3 separate regions of the Homo sapiens genome follow, and regions 2 and 3 are each linked to region 1. Evidence: promoter capture Hi-C in human tissues and cell types (Jung and others, 2019). All regions are on one chromosome and are shown on one strand. Each heading gives the region's core, a stretch centred on a gene start or on the middle of the fragment in contact. The rest is flanking DNA. Distances are from core to core; before and after follow the strand shown.

The links. The method cuts DNA at HindIII sites, captures the fragments that hold promoters and counts their contacts. A contact is called where the count stands out against the background at its distance.
Region 2: a contact is called between a fragment that was not itself captured here and the fragment with the promoter of ZNF226 in region 1, in 2 of the 25 tissues and cell types used here (IMR-90 fibroblasts and liver).
Region 3: a fragment that was not itself captured here is called in contact with the fragment with the promoter of ZNF226 in region 1 in 2 of the 25 tissues and cell types used here (spleen and stomach).

The regions. Positions count from the first base shown.
Region 1 is chr19:44,163,735-44,166,610 of GRCh38, reverse strand. ZNF226 (zinc finger protein 226) reads right to left here and starts at 1,511. Exons shown (of 6, transcript NM_001032373.2): 1 at 1,469-1,511; 2 at 804-854. RefSeq lists enhancers at 1,490-1,609, 1,670-1,819. The HindIII fragment of the contact is 21,073 bases long and covers 1-2,876 here.
Region 2 is chr19:44,473,395-44,476,270 of GRCh38, reverse strand. It overlaps ZNF180 (zinc finger protein 180), which reads left to right. Exons shown (of 5, transcript NM_001278509.3): 5 at 1-1,828. Among named protein-coding and RNA genes, the nearest start is that of ZNF180, 26 kb to the left of the region's middle. The HindIII fragment of the contact is 8,219 bases long and covers 1-2,876 here.
Region 3 is chr19:43,890,945-43,893,820 of GRCh38, reverse strand. LOC100505715 (a long non-coding RNA gene) reads left to right here. Exons shown (of 3, transcript NR_038334.1): 3 at 681-2,017. Among named protein-coding and RNA genes, the nearest start is that of ZNF404, 8.4 kb to the right of the region's middle. The HindIII fragment of the contact is 7,085 bases long and covers 1-2,876 here.

The sequences.
Region 1 (2,876 bases), core at 262-2,761:
TTTTTAAATGTATTTCTGTGTTTTCCATGATTATGTGTTACCTCTATATTATTTGAAACAAATAAAACTAATAATTGAGAAAACTATTTTTAAAAACTCTTTTCTTTTTTTGAGACAGAGTCTTGCTCAGTTGCCGAGGCTGGAGTGCACCGGTGTGATCTCAGCTTACTGCAGCCTCGCCTCCTGGGTTCAAGCGATTCTCCTGCCCCAGCTTCCCAAACTCCTGGGATTACAGGTGTTGGCCACCACGCCTGGCTAATTTTTGTATTTTTAGTAGAGATGGGGTTTCGCCATGTTGGCCAGACTGGTCTCAAACTCCTGGCCTCAAGTGATCTGCCCGCCTCAGACTCCCAAAGTGCTGGGATTACAGGCGTCAGCCACTGTGCCCAGCCACTATTTTTTAAAAGTCATAGAATAGCCCAGACCTTGAGCAAAGTCCCCACAGTGAAGTCCCAACCTATTTTCACATGATACTAGCCAGCTGCCTATGGCTCATGCAGAACATACCAAAGAAGACTCAGGTCTAGACTCAGACTGCCTCGGTTTCAATGCTAGCTCTGCCTCCTACTAGCTAGGTGGCTATGAGCAAACAAGTTATGTTCTTATGTCTCAGTCTCCTCGGAAAAAGAGTATCACTTCACAGAGCCACTGTATAGTGGAAAGGTGTTCATTTGTATAAACCCCTTAGAATGGAACTTAGCAACTAACGCTAAATTATAATCACTTCTCATGCCCAAATACATGACCCCACACATTCTCTGATTTATGTGAATAAAACAAGAATAACAACAAGTCTTACTCACATGGGGTTCTGCTGCCTCCTCCTCTGTGCAGTGCTTTTTGAGAAGTCAGGGCTGGGGAAGAAAAACAGGCTATGAAGTAACCAGGATTGTGTCTTCATCCCGGATACATCACAGTGGCATCTCCCAGGACCAGTTAGAAGCAACCCTCTCCTTCCTCAAAAGAGGTCAGGGACAATCCAGCTTCATGGACTCACAGAATTTCGCCACAGAACGGGAGTTTCTAGGAAAATTACAGTAGTATTGGTAATTCACGTGCCAGGCAGTTTTACACTTTTTGTATTACCTCGTTTTCTCTCAAAACATTCTATTAGGAAGTTTTTGCTTTTATTTTCCTTCAGAACAGCAAACGAAGGCACGGGGATTAACTAACTCGCTCAATGTGATACTGTATGAAGTGGTAGGGCTGGCTCATTAGGTGGGGGAGTCACAATGAGGGAGCGAACAGCCCGAGAGACCTTCAAACCCGACGAAGCATCACCCCAGCCGCCCGAAGCCAGTACGCCCCCAATTCTAACAAGCTCCGCCCAGGGAAACGCAAAACAGCATCCTGGCCCCTCAAACCTCCGCTCTTAGCCGCTACTCCTTTTTTTCCCCAAACAAAAGACCGCTAGCTGCTGACCACAAGTGCATTTCGGGGAAGTTTGAAAGGTTCCTGAGAAGCTGACCTGAATCACCAAAGCCAGGGAAAAGATGGCTGCTACGTCGTCTTCCTGGGCGGAAGTGCCTGCGAGTATCAGGAGGACCTGGACTACGCTTCCCAGAATTCCACAGCACTGCCTTCCTCGAGCCGGAAGTGCCTACAACTACCTAGAACGATTGGACCTACAGTTCCCAGGATTCCGCAGGGGAAACATTTACAGCCTTACTGCAGCTGAGCTATGCGCGACTACACGGAACTCCGGACTACATATCACAGAATGCTGGAGTTGGGGGAAAAACAGAACAGTACCGCCCTCCTGGACTACACTTCCGGAATGTCCAAGCCTTCTGATGTGGAAGTGTCCAACTACCTTGAGCTCCTGGTTTTCATTTCCCAGAATCCCTCACTTCTCTTTAGGTATTATTATGGTCTGAGTGTTTATGGCCCCCACCAAATTCGTATGTTTAAATCCTAACTCCCAAGAAGATATTAGGAGGTGGAACCTATGGGACGTGATCAGATCAAGAGGGCAATGCCCTCATGAATAGGATTAATGCTCTCTTATAAGTGGCCTGAGGGAGCTCCTTTGCCTCTTTAGTTATGTGAGGACACAGCCAGAAGGACCATGTATGACTTAGAAAGCGGGACCTCACCAGACACTGAATCTGCTGGCACCCGATCTGGGGCTTATGTGCCAGCAATTTCACTCCTAAGTAAATACCCAGGAGAACTGAAAGATATCCACACAAAAACTTGTTCTAAAAAAGTTCATAGCAGCATTAGTCATAATAGTCAAAAAGTGGAGAAGACCCAATGTCCATCAGCTGATGAGTGGATAAACAAAATGTGGTCTAGCCATATAATGCAATATTATTTAGTAATGTGAATGAACAAAATATTGATTCATGTTATAACATAGATGAACTCTGAAGACATTATGTCCAATGAAAGAAGCCAGACACAAGATACCATATATGGTATGATTCCATTTATATCAAATGTGCAGAATAGGCAAGTCCATAGAGACAGAAAGTAAATTAGTTGTCTCCAAGGCTGGGGAGATGTAGTTGGGAATGGGGAGTGACTGTCAATATGTAGGGTTTTTTTTTTCTTACTTTTTTAGAGACAGCGTCTTGTTATGTTTCCCAGAATGGAGTACAGTGGCTATTCACAGGCATGATCATAGCACACTGCAGCCTTAAATTCTTGGGCTCAAGTGATCCTCCCGCCTCAGCCCCCTGGGTAGTTGAGACTACAGGCATGCACCACCACACCCAGCTCATGTAGGGGATTTCTTTTGGGAGCAGATGAAAGAGTTCTAGGATTAGATAGTGGTAATCATTACATAATATTGTGGATCTTTTCAAAGATAGAAAAATGTTATGTGACAATATCCCCTAAAGCGTTAAAATGTAGCTAAACTCAAAGCTAAG
Region 2 (2,876 bases), core at 140-2,639, 310 kb before region 1:
TGTGTGTCTCAAATTTGTTCTGGAAAAGAAAGGGGGAAAGTCTATGAACGACTTTTCAACCTGGCAATTCCATATACAATGTTAAACTTGATTCTTATGACATATTCCTATGAAAATAATAAATACTGGCACTTTTCCTTGCAGAAAGCACTCAGACCTGAATCAGAGAAAATCATATGCCAAAGCCAACTGCCAGTGTTAGACCTCTTTTTCCATAAAGAGTAAATGGAATGCTAACACTAGTGGGCTTATTGAGAAAATTTAAAGGTTGCTGTAGTGTTTAGAACTTAGGCTGGAAAACCATATTTTAGTGCATCATTTTACTACATGATCTTCCAATTAGATAGCTTGTAATCTGTTCCTTACAGCACTTGCTGTTGTTACATGTGAAGATTTTATAAATTTTAGGAAAGTGTCTATGATATATAGTGAAAAGTGTGGGAAAAGAATATAGAAATAATATTCACTTCTAAAACCATTATGATAAAATATTTGTGTATGGATTAGAATAGAAAGGGATTATGGATGTATCTATTCAATTTCTCAGTTTATGTTGGGCCTTCCTTTTTGGAATGTACGCTGTTATGCTATGATAAATGATATAATGAGTAAAAATTATTCAAAGCCAAAAATGAAATACAAAGATTTCCTTCTTTGACTATTTAGGAAAGACTAAGCAACCAAATAGCAAAGATCCCTCAGGATAATGAGGTTTATGTTTGGAATAGCATGAGCAGATTACTACTTAGGACATAGATTCCTAGGAACATTCCTCATTGAAAATAAAATGGATTCCTGGAAATAGGTAACTAGAAATTTTGGCCAGAAATGGTTTCATATGAAGAACTGAGAATGCGTGGGAAGTATAGAGGGCAAGTGGGCTTATTTTCATATATGCAAAGCAATATTAAGGAACTCTATTTTCATGTTTTAGTTCTTCCCCTCATGTAGCATTGTCTCTTTCCTCTGGGATATGTTCCCTGATGTGAGAGTCCTCTGAATAGAAGGGTGCTTCCCTGGCTCAGTGCTGACCGTCTAAATTATGCTTGCAAAAATGCTTTCATGAGGCAAAGTTTTAGTTACTCTTTGATATTTAAGATTTGATTAACATGTCTTTCTGACCTTTCCCTTGAATCATGAATTTGAATCCTGTGGATGACCATATATTGAAGCCTCTGATCCCAGAAAGGTAATAAGCTGAAAGTTGAACTGAGAGACCAGATAATAGAGGTTAATACCCTTGGGATAGGAAAGAAAACTTAAAGGGTAACTGATGGGGTTATCCTTAGCAAAATTCTATCCCTATGAGATGACCCTAAGTGGAGCCATCTCTATGAGGATTAATCCAGAGATTGTTGCACACCTGGCAGTGTCAGGTCTGGGAAAACAGTTGCTGATGTTTTCATGGAGTGTGAAATACTGAAAGCTGCGGGCATCCCTTGGGGACCACTGACCCACACTTTGAAGAACCCTCAATGAGTCTGAAAGAGGTTCAGTATCTCTTGGGAAGGATGTGTTCCAGGCTCCAGGCCTAGTCTTACATGGCCAGTGGGGTTGAAAGACTGTGCCCCTGCAATGGTCTTTTCCTAAGACAGTTGAACAAAGTTCCAAGTCTGTCTGTCCTATTTTAACCATCTTTAAGAAGCACAAAGGGGATATGAGAAAAACAGATGCTGAAATGAAAATTTTAACTGATATCTTACTTATCTCACAAGTCGTGTAAAGAAAGAAATGATATGGTCGAATATTAGATTAGATGGTTTAATGATGTTTTGAGTGTTATATATGAGCTATGATGAGACCTAGAAAATAAAGTAAAAATAAAAAATATATAAGCCATGAACATTCTTCATATTCAGTGACAGTCTGCCTGCCACACCCAGGAATTACAGAGACACTCATAGACCTCACGGGATCCTCCCCTATGTCTCCCATCTCTTCACCACCAGCCCTCAGGGAGTCTCATGTCTCCCAATTACTCTCCAATCATTCCTAGATTTCTGTAACAGTCAGGCCCTGACACCCATGTAACAAGCAGAAACTCAGGGACCTCACAGGGCTCTGGCCCCATGTCTCCCAACTCTTTACTCCAGGCCCTCAGGTACTCTCCTGTGTCTCCCAGATTCTCTCAATCCCCAGCTTACTGCAACATTCAGCTTCCCAAACCCAAGTATCACCTATAGACAAAAATCTCAGGGCCCTCTTCTATCACGTCTCCCATCTCTTCACCTGCAACCCTCAGGGACTCTCCTGTGTCTCCCAGCTCCTCTCCAACCATCCCCAGATTTCTCCTTGGGTCAGCCCTGAACACACAGGAGTCACCCAGAAACTCATAGACCTCACTGTGCTCCTCCCTTATCTCTGTCACCTCTATACCACCATTCCTTAGGGCCTCATCTGTGTCTCCCAGCTATTCTCCAAGCATCCTCAGTTTTCTGCAAGAGTCACCCCTCAGCATTCAGGAGAACCCTAGAAATTCACAGAGCTCACCAGATTATTCCCCAACTACCTCCACCTACACAGCAATGGCTCCCACATACTCCCTGGGGGCCCCACACCTATCTTCCTTTACACTCAGAGACTCCCAGGGCCTCACAGTCACTCCCCATTATCATCATTCAGCTGTAAGTCCTTGCAAATCTCCTGGCCAACGTGATGCATTTACCTGCCCATTTCTCCACATTCCTGCTCAGGGTCCCACACCTAGCCGCAGAAGAGCCCCTTCCGCATTCCAGCCTCAAATACAGGCTTGTCCTTCTACTTCATACTGCCACACACTTGCCGGCAGAAGAGGCGCGTCTAATGGCCGACATCACCACCCAGGCAATCATCACCCCTCAGCTGTGCAGCGGGACCCTCCTGCCTGCCGATGTGGC
Region 3 (2,876 bases), core at 159-2,658, 270 kb after region 1:
TCACCCCTGTAATCCCAGCACTTTGGGAGGCCGAGGCGGGCGGATCACGAGGTCAGGAGATTGAGACCACGGTGAAACCCCGTCTCTACTAAAAATACAAAAATAATTAGCCGGGCACGGTGGCAGGCGCCTGTAGTCCCAGCTACTCGGGAGGCTGAGGCAGGAGAATGGCGTGAACCCGGGAGGCGGAGCTTGCAGTGAGCTGAGATCGCGCCACTGCACTCCAGCCTGGGTGACAGAGCAAGACTCCGTCTCAAAAAAAAAAAAGAAAAGAAAAGAAAATAGATAAGTGTTGGTGAGGATGTAGAGGAAAGGGAACACTTGTACACTGTTGATGGCAATATCAATTGGTATAGCCATTATGTAAAACAGTATGAAGGTTCCTTAAAATAATAAAAATAAACCTATCATATGAAAAAAAAAAGTGACGAGATGTCTCTACTGTGATTATGTTATACCATATAAGACTCATAGCAGATTGGACTTCTTTTGTGGGCTTGATGAAGTAAGTGGCAATGTTGGAGAAGCCCATCTTGCAAAGGAACTGCAGGTGGCCTGCAGAACCTGAGGGCAACCTCCAGCCAACAGTCAGCAAAAAGGTGAGGCCCTCAGTCGTATGGCCACAGGGAAATGAATTCTCCCTACAATCTGAATGAACCTGGAAATGAATTCTCCCCCAGTTGAACTCCAGAGGAGAACACAGCCCAGGTAACCCCTCGTTTGCAGCCTGTGAGACCAGCCTGAGGACAGCACCCAGCTAAACTCCAGGTCCATGGAAACTGTGAGATTTTATATATTTATGTTGTTTTAAGCTAAATTCGTGGTAATTGGTTATGGTAGCAACTGAAAATTAATGCAGTAAGAAAGTCTAAGGAGATCGGAAGAGACTAAAGAGAAATAACAGCTAAATGCAACGTAGATTAATGTGTGGGATCCTGGAAAAGAAAAAGGACATTAATGGGAAAACATATTTGAATAAGATGTGCAAATTTTTCGTATTGTACCAATGTTAATTTCCTGGTTTTGATAATTATCCTTTGGTTATGTAAGATAAACGCTAGAATGAAGGGTATATGAGAACCCTCTGTACTACTCTTGCAACTTTTCTCTAAGTCTAAAATAAGTGGAAATTAAAAGTTAAAACAAAAAAAAAGGAAAATTTTATCTATCCCAAGACCACAAAGTTATTTTTCTGTTTCTTCCTCCAGAATCTTTATTGTTTGTTTTCACACTTAGACCTATGATCCATCTTGAATTTATATCTGTGTATGTAGTGGGATGAAGTTCAAAATCATTTTTTTCATACAGATATCCAAGTGCACTGGCACCGTTTGTTAAAAACACTGGCCTTCTCTTAAGCTGCAGTCAGACTTTTACTGTAAAGCATGGGCCCATATATGTGCAGGAGTCTTTCTACTTTTCCGTTGGTCCTCTTTGTCAATCTTTGTGCCAGCACCTCCATTTTAATTCCTGTAGCTTTATATTATATCTTGATAATCTGGTAATATAAGTTGAAGAACAACTTTGTTCTTCAAAATCACTTTGTCTATTCCAGGTTCTTTGCATTGCTCTATAATTTTAGAATGAGTTAATTAATTTTCTCAAAACAAACAAAACGCCCTGCTGACATTTTGTTGGCAGTACATTGAATCAGTAGATAAATTTAGAGAGAATTATCTCAAAATTGAGTCTTACAGTTCATGAACATGGAATACATTTCCATTTATTGAATTCATCTTTAATTTCTTTCCTTAAGGTTTTGTTGTTTCCTGTCTAAAGGTCTTGCACATCTGTTAAATTTATTCCTGTTTTACATTTTTTATGTTTTTACAAACTGTTAAGGTTTTAAAAATTTTATTTTTCAGTAGCTTTGCTTTAATATAATTGTTTTATACTTTTACCCTTTATTCAGCAATAAATTATTTAATTTAAAGCTTGTGGAATTAAAAAATATTTTTATGTACATAATCATGTAATCTACACTATCTGCAAATAAAGATCATTTTACTTCCTTCCATTTACACCTTTTATTTTTTCCTTATAATATTGGATAGGTCTTCTACTACAAAATTGAAAAGACATGTAAGAGTAGACAACCTTACCTTGTTCCTGAAATCAGAAAGACAGTGGTCCATATTATGTATAATGATCCCTTTATGTACAATGGTAGTTGTAGTTTTTATTCTTTAGGTCCCCTTTATCAGATGAAAGAAGTTCCCCTCTAGTCCTGGTTTGCTGAGAATTTTTATCATGATTAATGTTGTATATTGTTAAATGGATTATTTCTAATGAAATAATTGAATGGTTTTCTCCTTTATTAGTTAACATTGAAAGATTACATTGATTTTTTAAAAATTAAACTTATACTTGTTTGAGGTTATGGTAAAAAATTAAATTAAATGGCCTTTGAATTTCTAAAATAAAGCTCTCTTGGTCAATATGTTACTGGTTTCTCTTTGCTAATATTTGGTTTAATATGCTTGCGTCTGTGTTCATGAAACAGATATATTGTAATTTTCCTTTTATGTAATATCCTCATCTGGTTTTGATATCACAGTTATTCTGGCCTTATGACATAGTTTGTTTTTTTCTATTTTCTAGAACAAGTTGAGTTTGATTGGCATTTTTAATTTCTTAAATGTTTGGGAGAATTTGCTACTGAATCCTCTTGGCCTGACATTATTTTTGTGAGAAGATCCTTAATACAGATTTAATTTCTTTAATAAATAAAACAATATTTAGATTTTCAATTTCTTATATCAGTTCAAATTGTGTTTTCAAGGAATTTTAAAATTTCATCTACATTTTCAAGTTTATTAGAAAGTTATAAAGTTGTTCATACAATTCTGATTTTAATGTATGTAGTAAAATAGGTA